Regions from separate parts of the Homo sapiens genome. Here all the other regions are linked to region 2. The links are contacts of gene promoters, found by promoter capture Hi-C in blood cells and fetal thymus (Javierre and others, 2016). All regions are on one chromosome and are shown on one strand. The core of a region is centred on a gene start or on the middle of the fragment in contact, and the rest is flanking DNA. Distances in the headings are between cores, read along the strand shown. Region 1 overlaps PDCD6IP (programmed cell death 6 interacting protein). Region 2 holds the start of TRANK1 (tetratricopeptide repeat and ankyrin repeat containing 1). Region 3 has its middle 78 kb from the start of PDCD6IP.

Region 1 (4,458 bases), core at 1,398-3,897, 3.1 Mb before region 2:
AACTAGCATTCTTTCAGTCTCTGAATTAAACTGTAGGTACCTCATACAAGTAGAGTCGTAGACTGCATTTAAAAAAAATTTCACAACATGAAATTTATTATCTTAATCATTTTTAAGTATACAGTTCACTAGTGTTGGGTGTATTTCATATTGTTGTAAAATACATCTCCAGAACTTTTTCATCTAGCAAATCTGAAATATTGTACTAATTGAACAACAATCCCCCTCCCCCTACCACCATCCCTGATAACCATCATTCTGATTTCTGTCTCTATGAATTTGATTACTCTAGGTAACTCATATAAGTGGAATCATACAATATTTGTCTTTTTGTGACTGACATTTCATTTAGCTTAATGTCCTCAAGATTCATCCGTGTTATAGCATATGATTTCCTTCTTGTTCAAGGCTCACTAATATTCCATTGTATGTATATACCACATTTTGTTTATATATTCATCAGATCACAGACACTTGGGTTGCTTTCATGTTTGGCTTTGTGAATAATGCTGCTATGAACATGGGCATACGTATATCTCTTTGAGACTCTGCTTTCATTTTTTTGGGGGTGTATACTCAAAAGTGGAATTGCTGGATAAAATAGCAATTCTATTTTTAATATTTTGAGGACCTGCCATATTGTTTTCCACAGCAGTTGTACTTTTTCTAATTTTTATTTTTTATTTTGAGACAGGGTCTTGCTCTGACGCTCAGGGTGAAGTGTAGTGGCATGATCATAGCTCACTGCAGCCTTGAACTCCTGGGCCCTAGTGGTCCTCCCGCCTCCGAGTAGCTAGGACTATAGACATGCACCACCATACCTGGCTGTTTAAAAACAATTTTTTTTTTTTTTGTTGAGATGGGGTCTTGCTGTGTTGCTCAGGCTGACCTCAAACTCTTGGCTTCAAGAGATCCTCCTGCCTCAGCCTACTAAAGTGCTGAGATTACAGGAGTGAGCCACCATGCCCAACCACGAGTTTGCGTTCCTGCCAACAGTACAGGAAAGTTCCAGTTTGTCTATATCTTCATCAATGCTTATTTTCTGTTTGTTTTTTAATAGGAGCTATCCTAAGTGGATGTGAGGTGTGTAGATTTTTTTTTTTTAATCAGAGTTGGGTTTTAGCCCAGCTAACCTGCTAGCCCTTTGAGAAATGTATTTGCATGAGGGAGTAAAGCATAAGGCCAGCTAGGAGGTAATTGCATTGACTTAGATTTGTGGTAATGAGGAATTGGTTTGATTGTGGTGGGACAATGTGATTTTGAGAGGTGACAGAAAAATGGAAATAATTTATTCAAATTTAAGAAACTGAGAGAAATGACATGAAAATGACTTTTACATTTGAATTTGATTGTAATAGAAATGTGGAAGTAAAGGGAAGGAGAGAAAGAATAACTTACTGTTCTTCAGCGTTTTGGGTGATGGGAATATTGTTGTGGAAATAAATGCCTGTAAGGGCAGCTTGAAATATGGGAGCATATGACAGCAAGAAAACAGGTCTGGAAACTTGTTTTTGTGAGAGTCAGCGGGATGAGAGAGGTCATAGTATTTCTCTTTGAAACATTTGTTTTCTTTAGAAAAAATAATCTGATGAATTTTTCCTTCTCAATTTTTTACAGCTCTTGCAAGCTTAGGATATGAAAAGAGCTGTGTGTTGTTCAATTGTGCAGCCTTAGCTAGCCAAATTGCAGCAGAACAGAACCTGGATAATGATGAAGGATTGAAAATCGCTGCTAAACATTACCAGGTATGCTGAAAAGTAGTTACTACAATAATGGTCAACACTAAATTGGATTAAGTGGAAAATAATTTGCATTTAGGTTTATAGATACTTCTTACGCAACAGATGTTTTCTAAAACGAATGCACTTTTAAAATGAATTTATTCTTACTGTTAAAGCCCTTAGATAAACTGTCTATAGACCAGGTCTGTTATTCCTCATTGTTTTATACCGAGCACCTAGCACAGTGCCTGGCACATAATAGAGGCTCAATAATTGTTGGTTGAAGAAATTATGAAATGTCTGAGATTTCATCTCAGGCATTTAGGGTAAATCCATTTTAAATAAATTACCTAATTAAAAAAAATTTGTACATTATTTTCATATGTTTTCTTAGAGTGAGACACACTTGAAATTTCACTGTTGTTACAAAAATAAAGACAAGAAATTGGCAAGAAAATAAAATTTTAACTTTGAGACTTGTGGAGAGGTCATATTTAAATATGGTCAGACACATAATGTTCATAAGTTGCCTAATCTGTTTTACGTACTGATCATTTACTAATATGGCATGTTATTTTGTGGCAGTTTATTTTATTTTATTTATTTATTTATTTTGAGACGGAGTCTTGTTCTGTTGCCCAGGCTGGAGTGCAGTGGCACAATCTCGGCTCACTGCAAGCTCCGCCTCCTGGGTTCACGCCATTCTCCTGTCTCAGCCTCCTGAATAGCTAGGACTATAGGCATCCGCCACCTCGCCTGGCTAATTTTTTTTGTATTTTTAGTAGAGATGGGGTTTCACTGTGTTAGCCAGGATGGTCTTGATCTCCTGACATCATGATCCACCCACCTCGGCCTCCCAAAGTGCTGGGATTACAGATGTGAGCCACCATGCCCGGCCAGCAGTTGTTTATTATTTATTCAGCTTTTTTTTGTTTTGGTTAAAAGAACAGTAAATGATTACTGTTAAATAATATATATATAATCATGTTGTCATTTTATATTACTTTCTAATTTACAAAGTGTTTTCATGTACATTATTTGACTCTCAGATAAACCTTGTGATGTATGTCATATAATGTCATTCCGATTTTACATACGAGGAGGCTAAAGGTCCGAAGTCTTAATAAAGCAGTCTATTTGGGTTTCAATAGTTCTGATTCCAAATTTCATGTAATTCCAAATGTCCTTCCACTGTTTCACTCCCAAACCTCCCATGAAATTTGCTTGTCTCAGAGGTAGTCTGCTTTTTCCCGTTGTTTATGTTTAGGGAAGAGGTGAGTGATGCTGTTCTGAGAAAGTAAAAGGAAAATATACCGTAAGCAAACAACACGCTCCAAATTGTGGCTTGCCTTACAGTTTTGAATGGGCATAGATGACAAACATAATGCATACGCTATTTCTTTTTGAGGCTATACATGGCAAATATTTTAAAATGTGAAAACGAGCTGGGCGTGGTGGCTCACGCCTGTAATCCCAGCACTGTGGGAGGCTGTGGTGTGCGGATCACGAGGTCAGGAGTTCCAGACCAGCCTGGCCAACATGGTGAAACCCTGTCTGTACTAAAAATAGAAAAATTAGCTGGGTGTGATGGTGGGCGCCTGTAGTCTGAGCTACTCGGGAGGCTGAGGCAGGAGAATCTCTTGAACCGAGGAGGCGGAGGTTGCAGAGAGCTGAGGTTGTGCCATTGCACTCTAGTCTGGGCGACAAGAGCAAGACTCTGTCTCAAAATAAATAAAATAAAATACAGTAGTGAAAACGAAGTAAAATTTTATTTAGCTTTTGGTTAACTGTAACTCAGTTAGTTAGTATATGAGATTTTAGAAAGGTCATTCTGAATTATGAAAGAAACATTCCATTCTGTGAGGGTTCACAGCAGGGCACCTGGTATCATGGAAAGATAACTGGTGGTATTAGACCTAGGTCCTTGTCTAGGCTGCTTGCCACCCAGAAGCTTTGTGCCGTTGGGCAAGTTCTTTAACCTCTCTAGTACCTCCAGTTCCTTATCTGTAAATGAGAGACTCAGACACTTTGCTGTTGTAGACTTTGATTCACTAGTTTACTGAACAAGTTCAGTTGTTCATTCCTAGCAGATACTCTAGTGTTATAATACTTACTGACTGCAGAAACATGCTGTTCATTTTAATACATTTGACTTTGAGTTTTCTCTGTGTTGTCTATTTATCTAACTCATGACACCTTTTTTTTTTTTTCTTTTTTGAGATGGAGTCTCGCTCTGTTGCCCAGGCAGGAGTACAATGGCGTGATCTTGGCTCACTGCAACCTCCGCCTCCTGGGTTCAAGTGATTCTCCTGCCTCAGCCTCCCGAGCAGCTGGGATTACAAGTGTGTGCCATCATGCCCAGCTAATTTTTGTATTTTTAGTAGAGACGGGGTTTCATCATGTTGGCCAGGCTGGTCTTGAACTCCTGACCTCAGGTAATCTGCCCACCTCAGCCTCCCAAAGTGCCGGGATTAACAGGCGTGAGCCACCGCACCCGGCCAACTCATGACACCTTTTAATCCCAGACTGATTTATTTCTTTTTCTTAGTATAATTTGTTTCATGAAAGCAAAGTTATTTTAGTATTAACAAAATATAATTGAGATGAAAAATCTGATGGGGAACATTTCACTAGTGAGCTCTGAAGGCCAGACAGAAATCACTGGCAATGGGTAGTAATGCTGTTCCTCAGAGGACTAGGTGTATGTACTACCTGGGGTGTCCCCTAACTACGGCAT
Region 2 (4,721 bases), core at 2,140-4,639:
GCTCAATACTTTCTTTTTTAAAGGTTAAACTTAACCATTCTCCCCATCGCTGTAACCAGCCCGACTATCAGTCTTTGCTGTAACTGTTACAGTGTCATCTTTGCTGCCCCAAGTCTTTCTTTCCTGTAAAGATTTCTTAACAAGGGTGCTTTTGGCCTTGGGAACCTCAGGCAGCACTCCAAGGAAATTTGTTTTAAAAGCAATGAGCCTGCGGTCACTCTGAGGGCAAAGCACTGACATGTCAGCCCCACCTCCCCATCTGGAAATGCAGTGGAGGGTTCATTCCTTAAGGTCAAGAAAACCAACACCACATACTTGATAATGGCCAGAGAGGCCCACACCTCAACCTCCACTTCAGTTCTTAAAATCCTCCTCTTCAGATCACTTTACCTTCCCCAAACAGGAGGACTGCAGGCTCTACTTGGCTGCTAAAATAATCTTCATCCCCAAAAGCAAAGATAAAATAATGAGGGCATATACTATAGAAATGGGTCTTTGGTAGTAACTTCAGGAAAACAGAAGCAACCAGCAAATAGAAGTTTAATATTTCCACAAGGCCAGTCTCTATTTGGTTCCTGAGAGCCATGGACTGGGAAGTCAAGAGATAAGTTGTCTAATCCCAGATCTAACACTAACTCGTTGGTAATGACTAACAAGTGATGGCCTTTCTGGGCCTTAATTTCTTCATCTATAAAATGATCGTGGTCCAGCTCTTGATTGCAGCTGTGAAATTCTGAGACAAGACCCAAAGAATCCTTTTAGAAAACTATGAATCCAAGGCTGCAGTAGGGTTGCAGCATCTTCCCTTCTTCTTCCTCAAAAAAAAAAAAAAAAAAAAAAAAGAACAGGAGCTATTATGCCCCTACCTCCCTAGCATTTACACCAGGCCCCACTGGGATCCATGCAGGAGGCCAGCTCTCTGTGGACACATAGCCAGAACCAAAGTAACCAGAAGCATCTGCGGTCTGTCTTTGTAGATGGTACTGGCTTGAACCACACAGCCATGTCCTACAGTATTCTATCACTCAAGTATGAATTTCAGTCTACTTCATCACTCCTACACCAAGTCCTCACTTCCAAAGTCAACTCCCCTGTGAAATGCTGACGGTCTCCTCATACTCTGGGAGAGCGGCGGAAACAGAACCTGCAGTTGCCCCATAAAGCTGGTCAGTCGGTCATAAAGTGAAGTTAACAATTTATGACCCGCTTTAAAAAAAAAAAAAAAACATAGAATGGGCCGGCGTGGTGGCTCTGGCGTGTAATCCCAGCACTCTGGCAGGCAGAAGCGGGTGGATCACTTGAGATCAGGAGTTTGAGACCAGCATGGCCAACATGGCGAAACACCGTCTCCACTAAAAATACAAAAATTAGTCAGGCTTGGTGGCGCCCCACCCCCGGCCCCCCGTAATCCCAGCTATTTCGGAGGCTGCGGCAGGAGAATCGCTTGAACCCAGGAGGCGGAGGCTGCAGTGAGCCGAGATCGCCTCATTGCACTCCAGCCTGGGTGACAGAGCGAGAATCCCTCTGGTGGGGGGTGGGGGGAGGGAATAGAATGGAAAATATCATTGTGCCTCACCCTGTAGAAAGAATAACTATACCATGAAGCTCTTGCTGCAATTTTACATGTGTATGTGTGTGTGCGTATATATGTATATATAATATTACACACATATTATGCATATATACATTATATACATATAGGTGGGTGGGTGTGGGTCTTGATCGAAAAAAGACCTAGAAACCCATACATAGGCCAGTGGCAGTGGGATGCGACTCTGGGAGTGAATGCCACACACACCTATCCCACCTCTACCCACCCCCCCACCCCCCGCAGAGGATGCAAAAGCCAACAAAGAGCATATGAACTCAAGCACCTATCCTGCAATCCTACAAAACAGACCTGCCTGGAAAACAGTTGAAACAAACTCCTGACCACCGTCCCCGCCCTCCAACACACACACACCGTAGTACTTTTTTTTTTTTTCTATAAAGGACCAAACAGGATGCCATCCGGATAACAGCCTTATATCAAAAAGGATCCTGGAACCCAAAACGCTCAGCACGAGGGAGCAGGAGCGCATACCTACGCTGGGAACACAAGGCTTTAATCCCAGCTATTCCTTCCCGCATAAGGACTAACTGAGCCAGCAGCAACTGGGTTGGAGCAGATAGGGGAACTAGAGACCTCAGAGCCCCATTCTCTTTCTGCTTCTTAAATTTTTTTTTCTTTTATTTTCCAAATTGCACACTTCCATAAAAATTTTCCTAGGAAGCACCAAAGCTTTCAACTGCCCAGAAACACCCCGATCTGGGAGAAAAGGTGGCTTGAGCTGCACCTCAAAGATGGGCTCTATCTCAGCCGGGTTGCAAGTGCACAGGGCTCCCCGCGGGACGGAGACAGGGAGTTGGGAGGAAACGCAACGCGCCTCCCAGGCAACAGACTCCGAGCTCCGGTTCGGAAACGCTCCGAGGCAGAAGCAAGGGCTTCTAAGGGCTCCGCTTCCCAGCCTTGGGTCCCTACTACTACCTTCCCCCTAGACTCGGTGAGCCCAGGCTGATGGACCGTGCAGTCCAGTTTGAGCCAGCCCAGCAGCCCTCAATCGGGCGGGCAGGGAAGAAGGCCTCCTACTGCCGGGAAGAGGCCAGCGCGCTCCAAGTTCCCCGCAAATTCCGCCCTTCCCGCCTGGCACGGTTCCCTTGCACCGCTGTGCTCCGCTCCCAGGTTTCTGCCCGCCAAGAATGCTTGCCCCGGGGGCGCGCTCGCTGGTCAGGAACCTGTCGGCAGCCCCCGGGAACCCCTGAGGATGCGGAGGTGGGCCCGAGAGCTGCGGCTTCGATGCCGGGGTGGGAGCTAGGCAGGCCGCGCGCCGCCGCAGTCCTGTCGCAGCGCGTGCCCTGGTCCCTCCGGACCGAAAAGGCCGAAGCCGTCCCCCGCGACCGACCCCGCGCAACTGGCTCGGGTCTGCACCTAGATGGCTGTGGGCCCCACAGGGATGGCCGGGCGGGCCCGTTCGGCCGCTACCTCAGGGTCGCCAGTCCCCGCGCGCGGCCGCCTCCCGCCAGGAAGGGTGGCGGGCCCGGAAGGCCAGAGATGCCCCAGTGCTTCCCGCGCCGCTACGCACCTAGCTGCCCGCGGGTCCCACATGGCTGCGGCCGGAGGGTCCGCACCAGGACCGCCGCCGCCTGGGGAAGCGCTTCCCTGTGGGCAGGGCGCGGCGGGCAGTGCGGAAGCCCGAAAGCTACCGGAGCCCGGGGCAGGGGCGGCGCGATGCAGAGGCGGCGTTCGGGGGCCCCCAGCTGCCTGCGGCTCGGCTACCCAGCCGCGATCAGAGGGGGCGGGGGACGCAGGAACCCCGGCGTCCGGGCGGTGTGCAGCCGCAGACCTATTCCAAGTTTCCACGTAGTTGCGAGAGCCCAAAAACTGTCACGTGCACGTCGCTGCTGAGTGGGAGGAGGTGTTTGTCATCGCGTTCAAAAGGGGCGTTTCGGTGTCTCCCGTCATGCAAGCAAATGGTATGGCTCTCGGCCGCCTTTGAATAAACGAGTGCTTCGAACCCTTTACCAGGAGGGACTAGGCGCACAACCACCTCCGACACTCCTCGGGCATGCGAGAATTCGGCTTTCCTTAGTGGGGCCCATCAATGTTGTCCGGGAGGTAAAGAAAGTGATCGGCCAACGGCCTCAGCGTGGGTTTTCTCCTTCCCTCGTTCCTCCCTCCAACAAAGGACGTACGGAGAACAAGCCCCCTAGCTCCTACAGATGAGGAGCTCAGGAGTCGGGCGAATATCAAGTACTTACTGTGTGCTTGCCCCTCCACTCTGGGGAGGCTGGGGGTCCGGGAGTGAAGGGGGCAGCGAGACCGCGGGCTGCTCCACGCTCACCGTCGTGTCCATGGAGAGTAAGTGCGCACAGGCCTGAGCAGGCAACAAAATGAGGATCTTGCCTTGTCTTTCCACCTCCCCAGTGATGATCGACAGAGTAGTGGGTCGGAGAGGACCACCTCTGGCTGCTACCTCCCCAGCGGTTCTCGGCCTAGGGAGCCGGTTTGGTCTTCACAGCTTCTCTGGGCCTGGGAGTACTTTCCTACACACCAGAGAATCCACCCAATCAGAGAGCTAAGCCCGCCGCCCTCCCCTGGGGCAAGGTTCGGCCTACACTGCATCCCGGTGGTTCGCCCATCCTTCTGGGGGACCACCACACCAGGCTGCCTGGTGGCAGGGAGGACACCACCAGAGCTTTAGTGAGGGGGACCACACATTTCAGCGAAACAGAGAGGCTTTGGTAACACGTGGACACACCTAAGGCACACAGTATACTTCTCTCCACTGGTCATTCTGCGTTGTGAACTAGTCTCAGTCTAGCTAGTGGTCTCCTTGCTTCTAGAATCTCACAGAGATTTCTGTGCATTGATCTTCCCCAAACATCAGGATGAATCACGTACAGTTCAAAAGCCATCAGTGGCACTCCATTGTCTCCTAGAGATCAGGTTAGGTACCCGGGCATTTGAGATTCTTCTTCACAATCTTGCCCCACATTTCCAATCTTAGCTTCCTCATGCAAACTCTATACTGCAGTGCTTCCCAACCTTAGTTACACAATAGAATCACCTGGGGAGCTTAAAAACAAAAACAAGGCCGGGCGGGTGGCTCACACCCGTAATCCCAGCACTTTGGAAGCCTGAGGCAGGCGGATCACCTGAGGTCGGGAGTTTGAGACCAGCC
Region 3 (4,746 bases), core at 826-3,325, 3.1 Mb before region 2:
TGTCTGTATAGTTTTGTCTTTTCCAGAATGTCATACAGTTAGAATCATACAATATGTAGCCTTTTCAGACCGCCTTCTTGGCATGTAAGTTTCCTTTGTGCCTTTTTGTGGTTTCATAGCTCATTTCTTTTTAGTGCTGAGTAATATTCCATTGTATGAGAATACTGGATATATCAGTTTGGTTATCCATCTACCTTTTGAAAGACACACTTGTTGCTTCCAGTTTTTGGCATTTATGAATAAACATTAATGTGCAGGTTTGTATGGACATAAAATTTCAACTTATTTGGGTGAGAACCTAGAAGCACAATTCATGGATCATAAAAGACTATGTTTTGCTTTGTAAGAAGCTGCCAAACTGTCTTCTAAGGTTGCTGTACCATTTTGCATTCCCACCAGCACTGAATGAGAGTTCCTGTTTCTCCACATCCTCGCTAGCATTTGGTATTGTCAGATTTTTGGATTTTAGCCATTCTAATAGGTGTGTAGTGGTATATTACTATTTTTAATGTGCAATTTCTTAATGATTTATGACGTTGAGCATCTTTTCACATGCTTATATGCCATCTTGTATCTTTGGTGAGACATCTGTTCAGGACCTCTATCCATTTTTGAATTGGATTTTCTCATTGAATTTTAATGCTTTTTTGGGGTATATTTTAATGTAGTTCCTTTATCAGATGTGTTTTGCAAATATTTTCTTCCAGTTTGTAGAGCAAAAGCTTTTTCACAGAGCAAAAGTTTTTAATTTAATGAAGTCAAACTTACCAGTTCTTTCATGGCTCGTGCTTGTGGTGTTATATCAAATCTATGTCAAACCCTAGATTACCTAGCTTTTATCCTATGTTATATTCTGGAAATTTTGTAGTTTTGTGTTTTATATTTATGTCTATGATCATCTCCTTTACTTTTGAAGGATAATTTTGCCAAATACAGAATTCTAGGTTGGTGATTATTTTCTTTCAACACCGTAAATATTTCCCTTCTCTTCTTACTTGCATTGTTTGTGAAGTCTAATGGAATTCTTATCCTTATTTTTCTATAGGTAAGGCAGGTTTTTCTCTGCTTTCTTTCAAGATTTTCTCTGTCTTTGGTTTTCTGCAAGTTTGAATATGATTTGTTAAAGTGTAGACTTTTCTGTATTTGTCCTGATTCGTGTTCTCCAAGCTTCCTGGATCTGTGGTTTTGTATCTGTCATTAATCCTGGAAAATTCTAATCCATTATTACTTCAAATATTTATTCTTCTCCTTTCTTTCTTCAGCTTCTGGTGTTCTCTTTGTGAATATATTACATGTTATGTTATTGTCCCACAGTTGTTGGCTATTCTGTTCCAATTTTTCATTCTTAGCATTTCAGTTTGGGAAGTTTCTCTTGACATATCTTCAAGCTCACTGAATATTTTCTCATCTGTATCTAGTTTACCAGTGAGCCCATCAAAGGCATTCTTCATTTATATTATAGGGCTTTTGATTTCTAGTATTTTCTTTCATTTCTTTCTTAGAGTTTCGAGCTGTCTGCTTTCATTACTCATCTGTTCTTGCATGCTGTCCACTTTTACATTGGAACCCTTAGCATATTAAGTATAGTTATTTAAAATTCCCAGTCAAATAGTATCAAAATCTTTTCCATATGTAAGTCTTGTTCTGTTGTTTGCTTATCTTTTCAGAGTGTTTTTCTTGCCTTTTAATGTGCCTTGTAATTTACTGTTGAAAGGCAGATTTGATATATTGGCTAAAAGGACCTGAGGTAAACAGATCTTTAGGATAAGGGTTTATGTTTATCTGGCTAAGAACTTGGCTGTGTTTATCACTTACCATAGCTGTAGATGTCTGAGATTTCAGTTTTCTTCAGTGTCCTCATTTTTGTTTTCCCTGTTGTTTTTGGTTTTCCCTAGACATTCTTTCTTAAACAGAGCCTCAGGCTTGCAGTTGTTTCAGCTGTAATCTCTGTTGTCACACAGGAGCCTTATTGATGTGGTGTTGAGGTGTGAGGGTAGAAGTGTTCTATAATCCTGTGATTTGGTCTCAATCTTTCAAGGAGCCTGTGGCCATGGCCTGTGACCCTCACAAGTGCTTCCCAGCTTTTGTTTTACTCCTTAGGTGAGACAGGAAGTTAGTTAAAGGGGGCTGGAGTTGGGTACAGTTGTCTCTGTCAGTATCAGTAGGTGCTTGATTCCAGGACTTCTCACAAATACCAAAGTGCATGGATACTCAAGTCCTTGATATAAAATGGCATAGTATTTGCATATAACCTATGCACATCTTCCCATATACTTTAAATTATCTCTAGATTACTTATAATACCAAATACAATGTAAATGCTATGTAGTTGTTTTACTATATTGTTTAGGGAATAATGACAAGTAAAGAAAGTCTGTACGTGTTCAGTAGTGATACAATTAAAAAAATTTTTTTTTGGTCTAACGTTAGTTGAATTTAGGGATGCAAAACCTATGGACACAGAGTGGGGACTGTATTTCCTTTCCCCTACATTGTAACCAGTATAGTTTCCCTTGAGGGCAAGTGGAGAACAGAATGCTCAGATGGTTACTTTCCCCTTCTGCTGGAAGCATCAGGGGATTTCCCCCAAATTTTCACCACGAGACCCTGGTAGGGCTTTTGCAGGTGAAACTCATGAAAACATGGGGGCCCCTCTGGGCCTGGGCCCCAGGAGTTTTTAACACACAGTCTAGGCCCCACTCAGCTTCCAGCAGTTTGTCCATTACAGTTTTTTTCCTCCTAGATCCTGGCTCCAGTGGCTTCGGCTCCTGCTTCTGTATTTGTCTGTTTCTCCAGTCTTGGGGCTATTTGTTTGCCCTGTGATCTCAATTCTCTGGTGGATTAAAAAAAGAATTGTTGATTTTCAGTTTGTTCAGCTCTTTTTTGTTGTGAGGATGAAGGGGTGGTTGCTGAGCTCTTCACATGTCAGAGCAGAACCCCAGAAGTCCAGATGAGCTTTGGATACAAATACTCAAGCCTTTAGTAAGCTTGGAGGATTTTTCACTTCTCTTCCATGTGCTCTCGACTGCCTTCTGGAATCTCTATTGTTACAGATACTAGATCTCTCCACATGTTTTCTATCTGTGTAGCACATAATAAATGTTTAGTAATGTTAGCTACTATTATTTTTTACCCATTATTTTAATCTTCCACCTTTTTCTTGATTGGAGAAGTTTCTTGAAATAATCTAATTCACAATTCCTTTTTCTGCAGCACTTGGTCTGCCACACACTGTCACCAATGCATTTTAAAAAGTTAGTCCAAGCTTATGGGGTACATGTGACATTTTGATACATGTATATAATGCATTGTGATCAAGCCAGGATATTCAGGGTGCCCATCACCCAAGAACAATACATTTCTGTTAAGCATAACCACCTTACTCTGCGATCAAACACTGAATTTATTCCATCTTATTCTACGTTTGTGCCCTTTACCCCACTTCCCTTCTTCTTCTTGCCCCCACTCACCCTTCCCAGTCTCTGTTGTCTAGTTTTTCACTCTTTACCTCCAAGTGATCAAATGTTTTAGTTCCCACATTTGAGTGAGAACATGTGGTATCTGTCTTTCTGTGCCTGGCTTATTTCACTTAAGATAATGACCTCCAGTTCCATCCGTGTTGCTACCAATGACATAATTGTATTTGCTTTTTATGGCTGAATGACATTCTACTGTGTATATATATACTACAGTTTCTTTACTTTATCCATTCATCTATTGATAGGTGCTTAGGTTGATTCCATACCTTAGCTATTGTGGATAGTGCTGCATAAACCTGTGGGTGCAGGTGCCCCTTTGGTATTTTGATATTTTTTCCTTTGAGTAGATACTCAATAGAGGAATTACTGGATCAAGTGGCAATTCTAGTTTTAGTTTAAAAAAAAAAACTAAAAACCATTTTTTTGAATTAACTCTTTAATACTAAAGATTTTTAAATTGCTTATAGATATAATTTTTTTGCAATTTACTTTTTTTCTTTTACATTCTCAACATAGCAAAATACTGTAAGAATGATTAGGGACTGACATTTTTAATAAAATCATCACTAAGTTTTACTTCTCAATATACTCTTTTTTTATAGAGAATGTTGTTATATGTCCAACCACTGATTTTTGGTTCTTGTGAAGTGCTTTCTTTTGTGGATAGTTGTTCAATTTGGTGTTCCTGCAGAGGGGATGATGGCTGGAGGCTTCTATTTGGCCACCTTGCTCCATCTCTCCTATTTTAGGCTTTTTGATAAATCTCTGTGCAGTTTTCCATAGTGGCTGTACTAGTCTACATTCCCAGCAACACTGTATAAGAGTTCCCTTTTCTTCGGATCCTCACCAACACCTGTTATTTTTGTCTTTTTAATAGTAGCATTCTGACTGGGTAAGATGACATCTCATTGTGGTTGTGATTTGTATTTCTCTGATGATTAGTGATGTTGAGCATTCCAAAACATTTTCAAATATGGCCATGATATTTTATGATTTGGTACAATCTTTACTGATCTCACATTTTCCCCTGTAGATAGTAGCTGCTTGATTTCACTGATATCATGGTAGCCACTCTTTTTTATATAATCGTTGTTAGTTGAAAATTAGCCCCCTGTTCCTGCAAGGATTCCCCCTCCCCATTTCCTTTAGATGTTACGTAACCTGAGCTAGAAATAATGCAGCGCTGTTAGAATTTAGCAAAACAACTCTAGGATGTGTGTTTACGCAGAATGTATGCCATACCAGCCCCCACAGTCAACCCCCATAA

Evidence for each region. The method cuts DNA at HindIII sites, captures the fragments that hold promoters and counts their contacts. A CHiCAGO score of 5 or more calls a contact.
Region 1: a contact is called between a fragment that was not itself captured here and the fragment with the promoter of TRANK1 in region 2, in 1 of 17 cell types (M0 macrophages). The highest score is 6.9, in M0 macrophages.
Region 3: a contact is called between a fragment that was not itself captured here and the fragment with the promoter of TRANK1 in region 2, in 1 of 17 cell types (M2 macrophages). The highest score is 6.0, in M2 macrophages.

Annotation. Positions count from the first base shown.
Region 1 is chr3:33,820,338-33,824,795 of GRCh38, forward strand. It overlaps PDCD6IP (programmed cell death 6 interacting protein), which reads left to right. Exons shown (of 18, transcript NM_013374.6): 4 at 1,618-1,745. Among named protein-coding and RNA genes, the nearest start is that of PDCD6IP, 24 kb to the left of the region's middle. The HindIII fragment of the contact is 2,045 bases long and covers 1,626-3,670 here.
Region 2 is chr3:36,941,665-36,946,385 of GRCh38, forward strand. It overlaps TRANK1 (tetratricopeptide repeat and ankyrin repeat containing 1), which reads right to left and starts at 3,390. Exons shown (of 24, transcript NM_001329998.2): 1 at 3,123-3,390. The coding sequence starts at 3,145. RefSeq lists a silencer at 3,038-3,257 and an enhancer at 3,488-3,557. The HindIII fragment of the contact is 7,723 bases long and covers 2,280-4,721 here.
Region 3 is chr3:33,873,814-33,878,559 of GRCh38, forward strand. No RefSeq gene overlaps it. Among named protein-coding and RNA genes, the nearest start is that of PDCD6IP, 78 kb to the left of the region's middle. The HindIII fragment of the contact is 1,820 bases long and covers 1,166-2,985 here.